Linked DNA regions of Homo sapiens: region 1 is linked to region 2. Evidence: promoter capture Hi-C in 16 types of primary human blood cells and fetal thymus (Javierre and others, 2016). All regions are on one chromosome and are shown on one strand. The core of a region is centred on a gene start or on the middle of the fragment in contact, and the rest is flanking DNA. Distances in the headings are between cores, read along the strand shown. Region 1 has its middle 75 kb from the start of MARCO. Region 2 holds the start of C2orf76 (chromosome 2 open reading frame 76).

Evidence for each region. Contacts are between HindIII fragments. The CHiCAGO score rates a contact against its expected background, and 5 or more counts as called.
Region 1: a fragment that was not itself captured here is called in contact with the fragment with the promoter of C2orf76 in region 2 in 1 of 17 cell types (M2 macrophages); the score reaches 5.0 in M2 macrophages.

The regions. Positions count from the first base shown.
Region 1 is chr2:119,014,130-119,020,472 of GRCh38, reverse strand. No RefSeq gene overlaps it. Among named protein-coding and RNA genes, the nearest start is that of MARCO, 75 kb to the right of the region's middle. The HindIII fragment of the contact is 693 bases long and covers 3,255-3,947 here.
Region 2 is chr2:119,362,746-119,368,783 of GRCh38, reverse strand. C2orf76 (chromosome 2 open reading frame 76) reads left to right here and starts at 1,950. Exons shown (of 6, transcript NM_001322331.2): 1 at 1,950-1,994. It overlaps DBI (diazepam binding inhibitor, acyl-CoA binding protein), which reads right to left and starts at 1,807. Exons shown (of 4, transcript NM_001079862.4): 1 at 1,724-1,807; 2 at 479-596. The coding sequence starts at 1,732. RefSeq lists enhancers at 687-886, 1,417-1,746, 2,117-2,376 and a silencer at 1,847-1,996. The HindIII fragment of the contact is 12,909 bases long and covers 1-6,038 here.

The DNA.
Region 1 (6,343 bases), core at 2,352-4,851, 350 kb after region 2:
GGTACTAGAGGGACCTTAAGGAAATGTCATTGGGGGTGCTTCTAGAATCCCAGATGTACACAGGACCTGGCCTGGACCTGGGATGCCCTTTCTGAACAGAACTCCTAGCCCTGACTGGGCCCAGGTACCCAAGGGGAACTCAGAGAATTTCAAGGAAAGTACCCCAAAGTGGGGACTCCTGAGGCAAAGGGCCAGGGCAGGGCCTCCTTGCCTGGGCCTTAGGGAATACTTCTAAAGAAAGTGCTGAATGAGATTTTTAATCTAAGGTTAACAAAAAACTGAATTGCTTAGGAATTTCTCTGGCCTGTCCAGCATTCAGCCTCACTGCTGCGGGCCTGCTGGGCTGAAGCTGGGCAAATGGGCTCAGCTTGGGTGGTGATGGCCCAGCTCTCCCAGGGAGGCCATTACTTGCAGAGAATAACTCAACAGGCTGGCATTTCTCCCTGGGCCTTGCCTTCCTGTGCTAGGGCAGGGGTTCCCAACCTGGTGGGACATTGGCATTAATTGGGGATGTTCCCAAAGTCACACCAGATCAGTTTAATCAGGTTCTTTGGTGACTTCTGTGCTCAGAGAATGGATAAAAAGAGGGAATGAGAACAGCAAGGGCTTTGGGGTCAGCAGGTCTGAGTCCAAATCTAATTTCTCCCCTTATAAGCTGTGTGACCTTGAACAAATTAACTAACTGCTCTGAGACCTAGTTTCCTCCTCTGTGAATGGCATGCTTAAGCCTCATAGGACTGTCATGAGTACAGTGATGAAAGCTTGACTTGTAGGTCAAGCAGAGATGCTTCTGTTTTTTACTGGCTGGATGACCTTAGGCAAAGTACCTAACCTCTCTGAACCTTCATCTCTTCAGTTTTTAAATGGGTATAATAGTATTACCTCCCAGGACTGTGAAGACAGAATAGGATAAAGTGTTTTGTTTTATTTTATTTTATTATTTATTTATTTAATTTTTATTATTTTTTTATTTTTTTTTGAGACGGAGTCTTGCCCTGTCACTCTGTCTGGGGAGTGTAGTAGCGTGATCTCGGCTCACTGCAACCTCTGCCTCCCCGGGTTCAAGCAATTCTCCTGCCTCAGCCTCCCGAGTGGCTGGGATTACAGGAGCATGCCACCACACCCAGCTAATTTTTGTATTTTTAGTAGAGATGGTGTTTCACCATGTTGGCCAGGATGGTCTTAAACTCCTGACCTCAGGCCATCTGCCCGCCTTGGCCTCCCAAAGTGCTGGGATTACAGGCGTGAGCCACCACGCCTAGCCAGGATAAAGTATTTTAAATACCTAACGCAGTACCTACACTTTATAGGAATTTTTACCATGTTTAAAAATAAAGACTGTTCACTTGCCTGTACGGAGTAGAGGATCCAAATCCCCCATCCAGCTCTTAGTTATCTCCACTGTCGCTCTCCAGCTCCCCCGGCCTGACAACACACACCTCATCAATCCTTCTCTCCCCTAACTGCTCCAGTCATATTAATCTTCCTTGTTCTTTCTTATCTCAGAGTCTTTGCTCCTGTCAGGTGCGACTGAATGATCTCCCCTCTCCTCTCTGCCAAACTAGGATGCGCACCTCATTCATGCCTTTGTCAAATTAAAATTTTCTCCATGGTGAAAAAATACCATGAACGAAGCAAAAGGACAAACCAAGGGAATATATTTACATATTCATATCCATGCAACATGAAGGATTCTTACAAATTAGTGAAAAAGAACAATAACTCCATTTTTTAAAAAGAGGGAATGAACGCGTTTAGGCAGTTTACAAATGGGGAAGTACAAATGATCACTAAGCACATGAAAAGAAGCTCAGACTCACTCGTCATTAAAAAACGCACATCAACACAATGAGATGCCATTTTTCAGAATTATATTGGCAAAATAATGATGATGATATACAGTGCAGGCCAGGGCATGGGGAGGAAGGTGCAGTCATGTACTGCTAATGGGAATGTAAATCAGCGCAGCCTCTTTGGATGAGAATCCGGCAATATTTACCAATATTTTTAAAATATTTACCAATATTTAAATGTGTCTCCCCTTTCAGAGGGCAGTGCCACTGGCAGGAGTTATTTTACACTTGTAATACACATGCACCTCTAGTCACTCAACAAATCTGTAGTAAGCTCCTACTACATGCCAGGCACTGGTCGTGACATTGGGAATGCAATGTGCAGGCAGCAAAACCACCTTTGTATTAGTTCCTCGTTGCAGCGGTAACAAATTGCTACAAACAGAGTAACTTAACACAGATGTATTATTTACAGTTCTAGAGGTCAGCGGTCTACTGTGGAGGTGTCAGCAGGGCTGCGTTCCTTCTGGAGGCTCTTGGGAAGAATGTTTCCTTCTGTTTCCAGCTTTAGAGGCTGCCAGCGCTCCTGGGTTCATGGCCCCCTCACTCTTGCTCTGACTTTGACCCTCCTGCATTCCTCTTCCTCGGACCCTGGGATTTGCTATTGGGCCCACCCAGATAACCCCAGATCATCTTCCCTCCTCAAAATCTTTAATTGAATCACATTTCCAAACTCCCCTTTGCCACGTAGGGTAACACATTCACAGGTCTGGGGACTAGGATATGGACATCTTTGGAGATCAATTATTCTGCCTGCCACACTGCCTTATGGAGTCAATATTCTAGGGATAGTGATACACAAAGATATTAATGGAAGCATTATTTGTAGCCTCAAAGAACTTGAGAAGCCTAACTACTCTTTAATAGCCAGCTAGTTAAATTGGTTCCAATACAGCCATTCAGTGGAATACCAGGCTGCTGAGGATGTGAACGTGATATTGAGGTTGTGGTCACAGGGATCCATCTCCCAGATACTTTGCTAAGTGAAAAGTGCCATGCAGAGCAGGATGAGTACTAAGGTGACACTTGTGGAAAGATAAGCACACATGCTTTTATATGTATAGAATATATTTGGAATGATACACAAGAAACTGTTAACAGAGACGAGGAATGAGAACAAGGGGTTTCAGTCAGGGTGAGTCTTACTTTTCACAATATATCCCATTGTGTGGGTTGAAGGCATTTATGGGGCATCTGGAGGGTGGCAGAGCTGTGGCAGTGCTGTGGCAGTGGGCAAGGTGGCTCAGGCAGCAAGGTGACACCCAGGAGGGACAGAGCAGCAGTAGTAATGCTGGAGGGGCACTTGGCTCAAGGCTGCATGTACACATATAGCACCCTGCTCTTGCTCAGATGACCCTAATAGAAATAGCAAAGTCTTTGAAATATGTGTTCATTCAAGCTTTACTTAAGAATGAGAAAACACACACTTTGCTGCTTTTTTTTCTCCTCTTCTCCCCTCTCTTTCTTCCTTGTCTGCTTTGGGGGTGCTCTTTGGGAGGAAGCAGATGAAGTTGGGTGGTAACCACCCCCAGCCACCCCTTGGTGTCATCCCTGCTAGGGAACATGTAGACAGAGAAGAAAGACGAGGGCAGTGTCAACTTTTAGGGGGCAAGCTGTGAGAAAGGAGCCAGGGAGGAAGGCTCAGGGAGAGGCTGGGAGACAAGCAGCTTGAGACTCCAGAAAGGTTGAGAAAATCAAGAGCAGAAGATGTTTCAAAAAATACACAATGCATTTGGTATTTTAAAACCAGTTTTTTAAATGGGGCAAAGCAAGGGTTAACACTGTAAAATATTTCCTGTATCCATCTATCTATTCATATCTATCTATCTATCTATCTATCTATCTATCTATCTATCTATCTAGTCTATCATCTATCTATCTAGTCTATCATCTATCTATCTTATCAGTAAATACTGTAAGGCATACCTGCCAAACACAAGGCATTGTGTTAGAATCTGCAGGCAACATTATAAGCAGCTTACACTTTATTTGGGTGAAAAGTGAAATGAGCTATAAAATATTTAAATAACAGCTTAACCCCGAAGCCACAAAGGAAAAGACTGATAAATTTGACTACACGAAAATTTAAAAGCTTTAGTACAGAGAGGGGAAAAAAAAGCTTCAGGATAAACTGTAAAGGTATTTGAAATGCATATGACAGACAAAAGACTAATTTCCTTAATTTACATTGAGAGAATCATTGAAAAAAAGACCCTAGATGAGCAGATGTGAACAGGAAGTTCTTAAACATGCAAGCTTGGAGGAAAAATTCTCATCTCAACTCATAATTAAAGAAGTGTAATTCAAAACAACAACGAACCTTCACTTCGTTAGTCACATCTCAGATTGGCAAATATTAAAATGAAAATTATTACCAAAGGTGTGGGGAAATAGCCACCCTCTTATTGCTGGTGGGAGTCAATCAGCGCAACCTTATCGGAAGACAATTTAGGAATATGTCAGCATTTCAAGTGCATATACTACTTAATCCAGCAATTCCGCTGCAGCTGCCTCTGCAGAGATTCACCAAGAGGCACTGGGCAGGGTCTCCCGGCAGCACTGTTTGCGATAGCGCTGACTGCAAACAACTAACACCACCCACTGAGGACCAGGCGAGTGAGTTACGCAGCGTCTGTACTGTGGAATATGCCGTAGCCATAAGGAAGGATAAAAATCGGCTCGGCAGAGAACAGTGTGTTCAGTATCATGCCATTTGTGTTAATAAAAACCCTATATACTGTATACGGATTACAGTAAATTATTCTGAGGGGAGAATACATGTGAACTAATAACCACCTCTGGCTTGACACACTGTGCGAATGGTTGCTTCATCAAGTGAGATAAGAAATGTAGGAGCAGATTCCTAAGAAAAAATATGTTAAAAAAAAAAAAAAAAGGCATGCCCCTTTGGTGTAAACCATGAGTCTGACTTTTGACTGTGGAGTTTAAAGTACATCTGGGAGGAGAACTGAGTGGGGGTCGGTGTAGAAAGGAAGGCTAAAGCTGGTAGTGTATTTTATGTTTTCAAGAACTGTTTTGGGAGGGGAACACCACACACTGGGGCATGGCGGGAGGCGGGGTGTGGGGAGGGAGAGCACTGGGAGAAATAGCTAACGCCTGCTGGTCTTAATACCTAAGTGATGGGTTGATAGCTGCAGCAAACCACCATGGCACACGTTTACCTGTGTAACATGTCTGTACATCCTGCACATGTACCCTGGAACTTAAAATAAAATTAAAAATTAATTAAAAAAATGAAAAACAAAACAAAAAAATTTAAAAACTGTTTGAACTTTTTAATCAGCTAAATATGTTGCTATTTTATCAAATATTTTAAATAAAATTACATACTAAGACAACAATTGAGTAACTGGCCCACACAGGACAAATGTCATTGAATTGCTCAGCGAACAGGGGCCAGGACAGGGAGTCTCTCTGATCAATCCCTCTGACCACATTGTTTCTCTATTTTGTGAAGTCGTTTTGTCACTGCGTCTTGTTCACTGACACCCTCAGGAAGATCTCCTACAAAGTGTCTGAGATGTTCCCTACCACCAGCCCCCTTCATCTGGCCCAAGACACTCCCATAGCAGAAGTTTGTTCTGAGTAATTTCCATTTCATTGTGATCTCAAAACATTAAAGATTTGTGCTGCCCAAAGACAGAATCATTCACTGATTTGAGCAACTCTGTGTGTGTGTGTGTGTGTGTGTGTGTGTGTGTGTGTTCCAAGAGTGGCACAGCTTCTTGAGTGAATGAAGCCCTGAATTGGGAGCCAGGAGACCTGAGTTCTAATCCAGATCAGCAGTCAACCAGCTATGTCCTGGGGCCAATCTTATTGCCACCATAGGCCTCCATTGTCTCTAAATGAAGGACTTCAACTAAAGTCATGACCTTATTTATGTATTTATGTATTTATTTGGAGACTAAGTCTCATCTGCTGCCCAGGCTGGAGTGCAGTGGTGTGATCTCAGCTTACTGCAACCTCCTCCTCCTGGGTTCAAGCAATTCTGCTGCCTCAGCCTCCCAAGTAGCTGGGATTACAGGCGTGTGCCACCATGTCCGGCTAATTTTTGTATTTTTAGTAGAGATGGGGTTTCACCATGTTGGCCAGACTGGCCTGGAACCCCTGACCTCAGGTGATCCACCCGCCTTGGCCTCCCAAAGTGCTGGGATTATAGGCGTGAGCCACCGTGCCTGGCTGTCATGCCGTTTAATAATCCTCCCACACTGGCATTCTGATTTTTCTACATTTTGTTCTAGGCCTTCGCTCAAGCCTTGGTTATGTATTCTTCCATTTCTCTACTTTACTATAGCGGCTCCCGTAGAGCGGAGCCTACAGAGGGCTGGAGTGCACGGCACTGTAGGATGGAGAGTTTGGGCCTTGGGAGTCAGATACCCCTGGATTTGAACCTCTTTTCCTCTCCTCACCAGCAGTGTGGGCTAGAACAAGCCAGTTATCCTTTCTGAGAGTGGTTTCTCCCACTATAA
Region 2 (6,038 bases), core at 701-3,200:
AAAGTTATCATCAGGAAGGCACAGACTTGTTAGCGAAATGCTCTGACCTAGCCCAAGAAACCAGGTGCTTCTCTGCTCCTGACATCAGGCTTGGCCAGGCTGTCAAGTGCTCCAAAAAGTGCTCCAACTTTGATCCTGCCCATCTAGGGCAGAAGCTGAACGGCTCAACAATGATACTACTGAGCTGAGAGCCTTCAGCAAGTCTTTTCCAAGCTGCAGCCTTTGCTTCTTCCCTAGTAGAGAGTAGCTGCTGGTGATAACCAGTAAAGACCTTCTAAAACCAGGATTTGAATTCTGTTACTACTGGAGACACTGAGAATCCGGAACATGGTCTTTTCCACCTCAGGAACCATCACCATACCCCACCTGAAGAGTAGGGCCTCAGGCAGTTTGAGAGTGAAGTTCCCAGGGACTTCCAGTCTGAGCTGCTGAGCCTGCTTTGATGAGCAGATGCCCTTCCAACCCCCGCTCTGCATACCTGTATTTATGTCGCCCACAGTTGCTTGTTTGTAGTGGCCATAGATGAACAGCATCTCCTCATCCGATGGCTTGGTCTTAAGGTGCCTAACCTCCTCTGCAGCTTTCTCAAACTCAGCCTAAATGGAAGGGAGAGGAGAGGATTGAGGGCCTCCTCTGGGTGGGAGAGGGTAAGAATCCTACTGTGGCCTGATGACAGCCCAGTTACGGGGATGGAGAGGTGGGAAAGGTGGCACCCTTCGGGCAATGCAGCCCCTGAAGTGTGTCTGCCCCTCCCTGCCCCAACAGGGCAGCTAGAAAGATTCAGCAACACAAGAAGGGGAAGCCCCTCCAGTTCACTCATTCAATCGAAAACCATATATCCAGAGCTCTCACAAACGCAGGCATCAGGTCTGGAAATACAGCAGTGAAGAGGGCAGGCCAAGCCTTCGCCCCCAGTGGGGGTCCCCTCTGCGGGAGAAGCAGCGCGGCCAACTGCCTGGCCACCACCGGGCCAGGCACTAGGGAGTGGCCGGGGCTGCAGCGAAGCCCTGGCCTGAGGACAGACGGGGCACAGTATGCTGGAAACAGCTGAAAGGGGACAGGGCATGAGTGCCGCGGTGTCAGCGCCGGAGCCCGTTGGTCCCCTCCCTCCCCCTGGGGCCCGCGCGTTCAACACCGACCTCTGTCCCAGTGCCCGGATTGGCAGAGGCAGGCGGGAGGAGCCAGAGGTCGCCCCACATAGCTCGGTCTCAGACAAGGGTCTACACTGGAGAGAAGGGAGGGGCCCCTGGGTCACCTCTCCCCGGGCCGCGATTCTCCTCGTCCCGCACTCTGAGCAGCCGGCCCCGTACTTCCCCTGACCTCCAAGCTCTCGGCCACGGACTCCTCGCTTCCCCACTCCGCCGCGACGTCCTGCCCTGTGCTTCGGGATGGGGACTGAGTCTCCTCGCTCCTCCAATCCGTGCAACCCCTTCCCCCATCTCTCCATCAAGCACCCTCGACTCCCACCCCTCTCCCGCTACACAGCGAAGTCCACCCCATGGGCAACTTTCCGGCAGTTGCGGGGTGGGCAGCAGATTTAGAAATCCCCAAACGGAAAATCCCGCTCACAAGGCTCTGTCCAACGAATCAGGGCTAGGCATGGGCCCATGAGCAAGTGAGGGGCACGGAAGGAAAGAGCCCGAGAGCTTCTGGCAGCCGGCTGAGCCCCCAACGGGCCTCCCGCCCGCTGCACCTTCGCAGCCTGGCTGTGCACGCGCTGTACCTGAGACATCCTGGCCGACTTGCAAGAACTCCAGGGAGACAGCGGAGGAGGCGAGGACCAGGAAGCGATCGCCCAGATTGCACTGGCAAGCGCCTTTAGAGGCGCGGTCCACTCGCCCCAACCCTGCTCGGGCGAGCACCGGAAAGCCAATCAGAAGCCAGCTATGCGCTAGGGGCGTGCCCAGCCCCCGCCGCGGCGCTAGCCCCGCCCGAGCCCACGTGGGACCGCTTGCGCAAACGCCGGGAGTAGCCGAAGGGGACGCCGGGAACAGGTGGGGACAACGGAAGTAGGGTGCTTAGTTTTGCTGCCGGGAGTTGGTCGAGAGTTGGGTTCAGTCCTGGCCCGTTGTGGGGACGGCACGCGGGGGAAGGGGAGGGGACGGAGACCGAAGAACGGAGGTCCTTATGTTTCTTTTCTTTCCTTAAATCTTGCCCGGCCTGAAGAGGCCGGAAGTTGCATCTCTGGACAAGTAAACTCTGAGACCTGGGAATGGCGGGCGGGACCCGCTCCTCCCTTGGGGTCTAGAGGAGACCCCCGGAGATGGTCCCTGATGAGCAGCGTGATGGTGGAAAGCTGGACTGGTCTCCCGAAAGGCGAAGCCGAGGCTTCTTCCTCTGAACTTTTGGCACGTTCTTTGACTTGCTTGTGGCCGTAGTGTCAGGCCTGTATTGCACATTTATGTCTGTGGTGCATTTCTCCATCTGGTGCGTTAAAGGCAGGGACGGTGTCTTATTTGTCTTGATTTAACAAACTTGGACGGGACGAAGTGCTCAGCAAATATTTGTTAAATGAATGGCTGTTTATTGAACTCCTGTTGGGTAACTTGCACTGTTCTAGACCTTGGCAGACAGCAGTGAACAAAGCGGGTGAATCCCTGCAATCTTGGAACTTACAAGTAGGGACAGTAGTTTATACAATAAGTTAAATATAGAGTACTTTAGGGGCTTAGAGAGTTGGAAGTTTATAGTTTTAAATGGAGGAGGGGGAGTATTGAGGGAAGGTGACATTTGAGAAAGTTCCTCAAGGAGGGGAGGGAAGATTCCAAGCAGAGAACAAGTGTAAAGGCGTGGGCAAGGAACCAGGGGAAGAGTAGAAAGATGAGGCTGGAGAGTTTTGGCGGTGGCAGACTGGCTAGGTGATGCAGAAGTTGGCCATCACAGGGACTTTGACTGTCATGCTGAGTGAGATGGGAAATCGTAAAAGGGTTTGAAAAGAGGATGAGGAGACGGAGGGGAACGTCTTTGCGAGATTGTTACACAGCCTAATCTCCATGGGAACTGAAAGGAGCAGCACAGGTGTCTGGAAGTGTTTTAGGATCGATGTTTAAGAAGCTAAAGGAAGACTTCTCTGGCAGTGGTTGCAAAGGAGCTGGGTGAAGAGAGGGAAATGATGGAAAATTCTCTGGAGATCATTAAAAAAGCAAAGTCATTCCTCTCTAATTCATAATTTGTGGCAAGAGGGCTGGACTACAAATCTCTGCCCTGCCTACACCTTCCCCCTCCCCAGGGAAGGTAGACGCTTTCAGACTTAACTTGCTAACTTAATGTAGGTCACGTTTTATGGAATGTTTGGGAAGAAATGAAGATGCAATAGGGAACAAATCTAGGGTTTTCAGTCTGAGCATAATTTTGTTTGAGAAAGGAAAACCAAACAAATTAACAAAAATCTTGGAGTTAAATATGGGGAAAGTACACTGAAGTGTAAGAAATGCAGGTTTCTTCGAAAATCACAATTCAGAGCTGCTTTTTCCATTTGAGGCCTGGATTTGTTTTTGCTCTACTTGGTGCTTACAGCTTCCTTGATGGAAACTCAGATTATTGCTTGTGTGGGCCAGATTTGCAGTCAAATACATCTCCTAGTCAGCAGGTTTTAAGTTAGGGTATTGTTGAGATTAGGTACTTTGAGAATGCAGTTATCACTTCTCAAAGATCAGTTGCTTTTAGTTTTTTAGTTTTTGTTTTTTAATTATTTTCGCGTGTGATGTGGTCTCACTCTTTTACCTAGGCTGTAGTTCAGTGGCACAATCTCAGCTCTCTGCAGCCTTGAACTCCAGGCCTCAAGCGATCCTCCCACCTTAGCCTCCCGAGTAGCTGGAAATGTGGGCACAACCACCATGCCTGGCTAATTTTTTTATTTTTATTTTTATTTTTTGTAGAGATGGGGTCTTGCTATGTTGTTGGTCTTGATCTCCTGGGCTCAAGGGATTCTCCCACTTTGGCCTCCTAACGTGGTGGGAGTACAGGTGTGAGCCACTGCGCCTGGCCTTGATTGAATATTGCTTTTCATAATTCTGAGAATGCAAGATCCTCAGCTCTGTTTATGTCCTTGTTAGCCACCGTAACATGTTGTAATTATTTTATTTACAATTATTTTAATTTTAATTTACTTTTCTACTGTCTAACCCTCTGCCTCTGCCTCCCACCAAACACACATAAGCCAGGAGGAGATGGGGTCATTGTGTATCAGTCACTGCTGAATCTCCAAGTGTCTGGCACTTCTTAGGCACTCAACAAATAGTTGTTGAATGAATAAAGTGTTTTTCTCTCTATGAAGATTTATTCTGTCTGATTAACTGAACTTGGAAACCATCTAAATTTGTTAGAACTGAATGTAAAACTATGGGGTTGAGTAAAGTAGATGAACTCTGGTGCAAGGACCATGTAATCTCTTTGTACCACTCCCAGCTTTGGAAGCAGAGCACCTGGAGATGAGAAACCTGACCAGCCAACTTGTCAGCCAAATTGACCCTGCCAATCAATAGAGAGGCCATTGTCATTGTTGTAGTTTGCCTTCACATCTGGGAATACCACTTTTTATTTATTATTTATTTATATTTTTTTCATAGAAACCACTCTTGTCTGCCACAGGCTTCACTCGGTGGGTCTCAGAATAAAGCCAGATGGGCAAGATCTCTCTCTCTTTCTCTCTTCTCTCTCCTCTCTCCTCTCCCTCTCTCTCTGCCCTACCTCTCTCTCCCTCCCCCTTTCTCCTATCTCTGTCTGTCTGTCTGTCTGTCTGTCTCTCTCTCTCTCTCTATTTTTTTGAGACAGGGTCTCACTCCATTACCCAGGCTGGAGTGCAGTGGCACAATCATGGCTCACTGCAGCCTTGACTTCCTGGGCTCAGATGATTCTCCCACCTCAGCCTCCCGAGTAGCTGGGACTACAGGTGTGTGCCACCATGCCTGGCTAATTTTTTGTAGAGATGGGTTTTTGCCATGTTGCCTGGGTTGGTCTTGAACTCCTGAGCTCAAGTGATCCCTCTGCCTCGACCTCCCAGGATGCTGGGATTACAGGCCTAAGCCACTGTGCCTCGCCCTGGCAAGATATATTAATAAGTGAAAGCATTTCTTGCTCATTAGGTGGGAATAGTAGTTTCATATTAAGTTTCTTAGTATAAATGAAACCTCTAATTTCTGAAAGTAACCTAATCACCAGAAAATGAACTACGATTTCAGGAGAGCTTCCTAGTTGCTCTAGTAACTAGAGTTACTATAAGGCGAGGGTTAGGGTATCCACAAATGATGGATTACATTCATTCTGTATTTTCTTTCCGGTTACTTGGAATGTGACTCCTGTGGCAGGGCTTCAGCAGAGCTGGAGGAGACTAGTTTTTTTTTTTTGCCTTTTTTTTTTTTGAGACAGAGTCTTGCTCTGTCGCCCAGGCTGGAGTGTAGTGGTGCGATCTCGGCTCACTGCAAGCTCCGCCTCCCGGGTTCACGCCATTCTCCTGCCTCAGCCTCCCGAGTAGCTGGGACTATGGGTGCCCGCCACCACGCCCGGCTAATTTTTTGTATTTTGGGTAGAGACGGGGTTTCACTGTGTTAGCCAGGTTGGTCTCGATCTCCTGACCTCGTGATCCGCCCGTCTCGGCCTCCCAAAGTGCTGAGATTACAGGCGTGAGCCATGTCGCCTGGCCCAGGAGACTAGTTTTAAAGGGAAGAAGGGACTTTGGAAATGCTTCTGGATAGGATTGGGGAGGTATGGGTGGAGTTTTTTTGTGAAGGCTGAGGGAGGTGAGAGTTGGTGGGGGTGGGGTAAGAATGAAGCCTGGCTTTCCTCATAACTGGTGAGAGGAGGCCTGGCAGCTGGAGGTGTTAGCAAGTCCTGTGCCATTCCTACCCTCTCCTTCCTTTGGGTGTTCGTCTTCAGAGGAATTGTGGCAAGGCGGGCAGGAGAGAAGAGTAAACAGGTGTGGCATGCACATGTTTACCATTTTCTTCTTCCTCTTCTTTTTGCCTAGCCAACTTGGGCTGGGGGTGGTTAGGGCTGAGGTGAGCTGCAGAGATGGCTTGGGAGTGGAAGATTCTGATAGG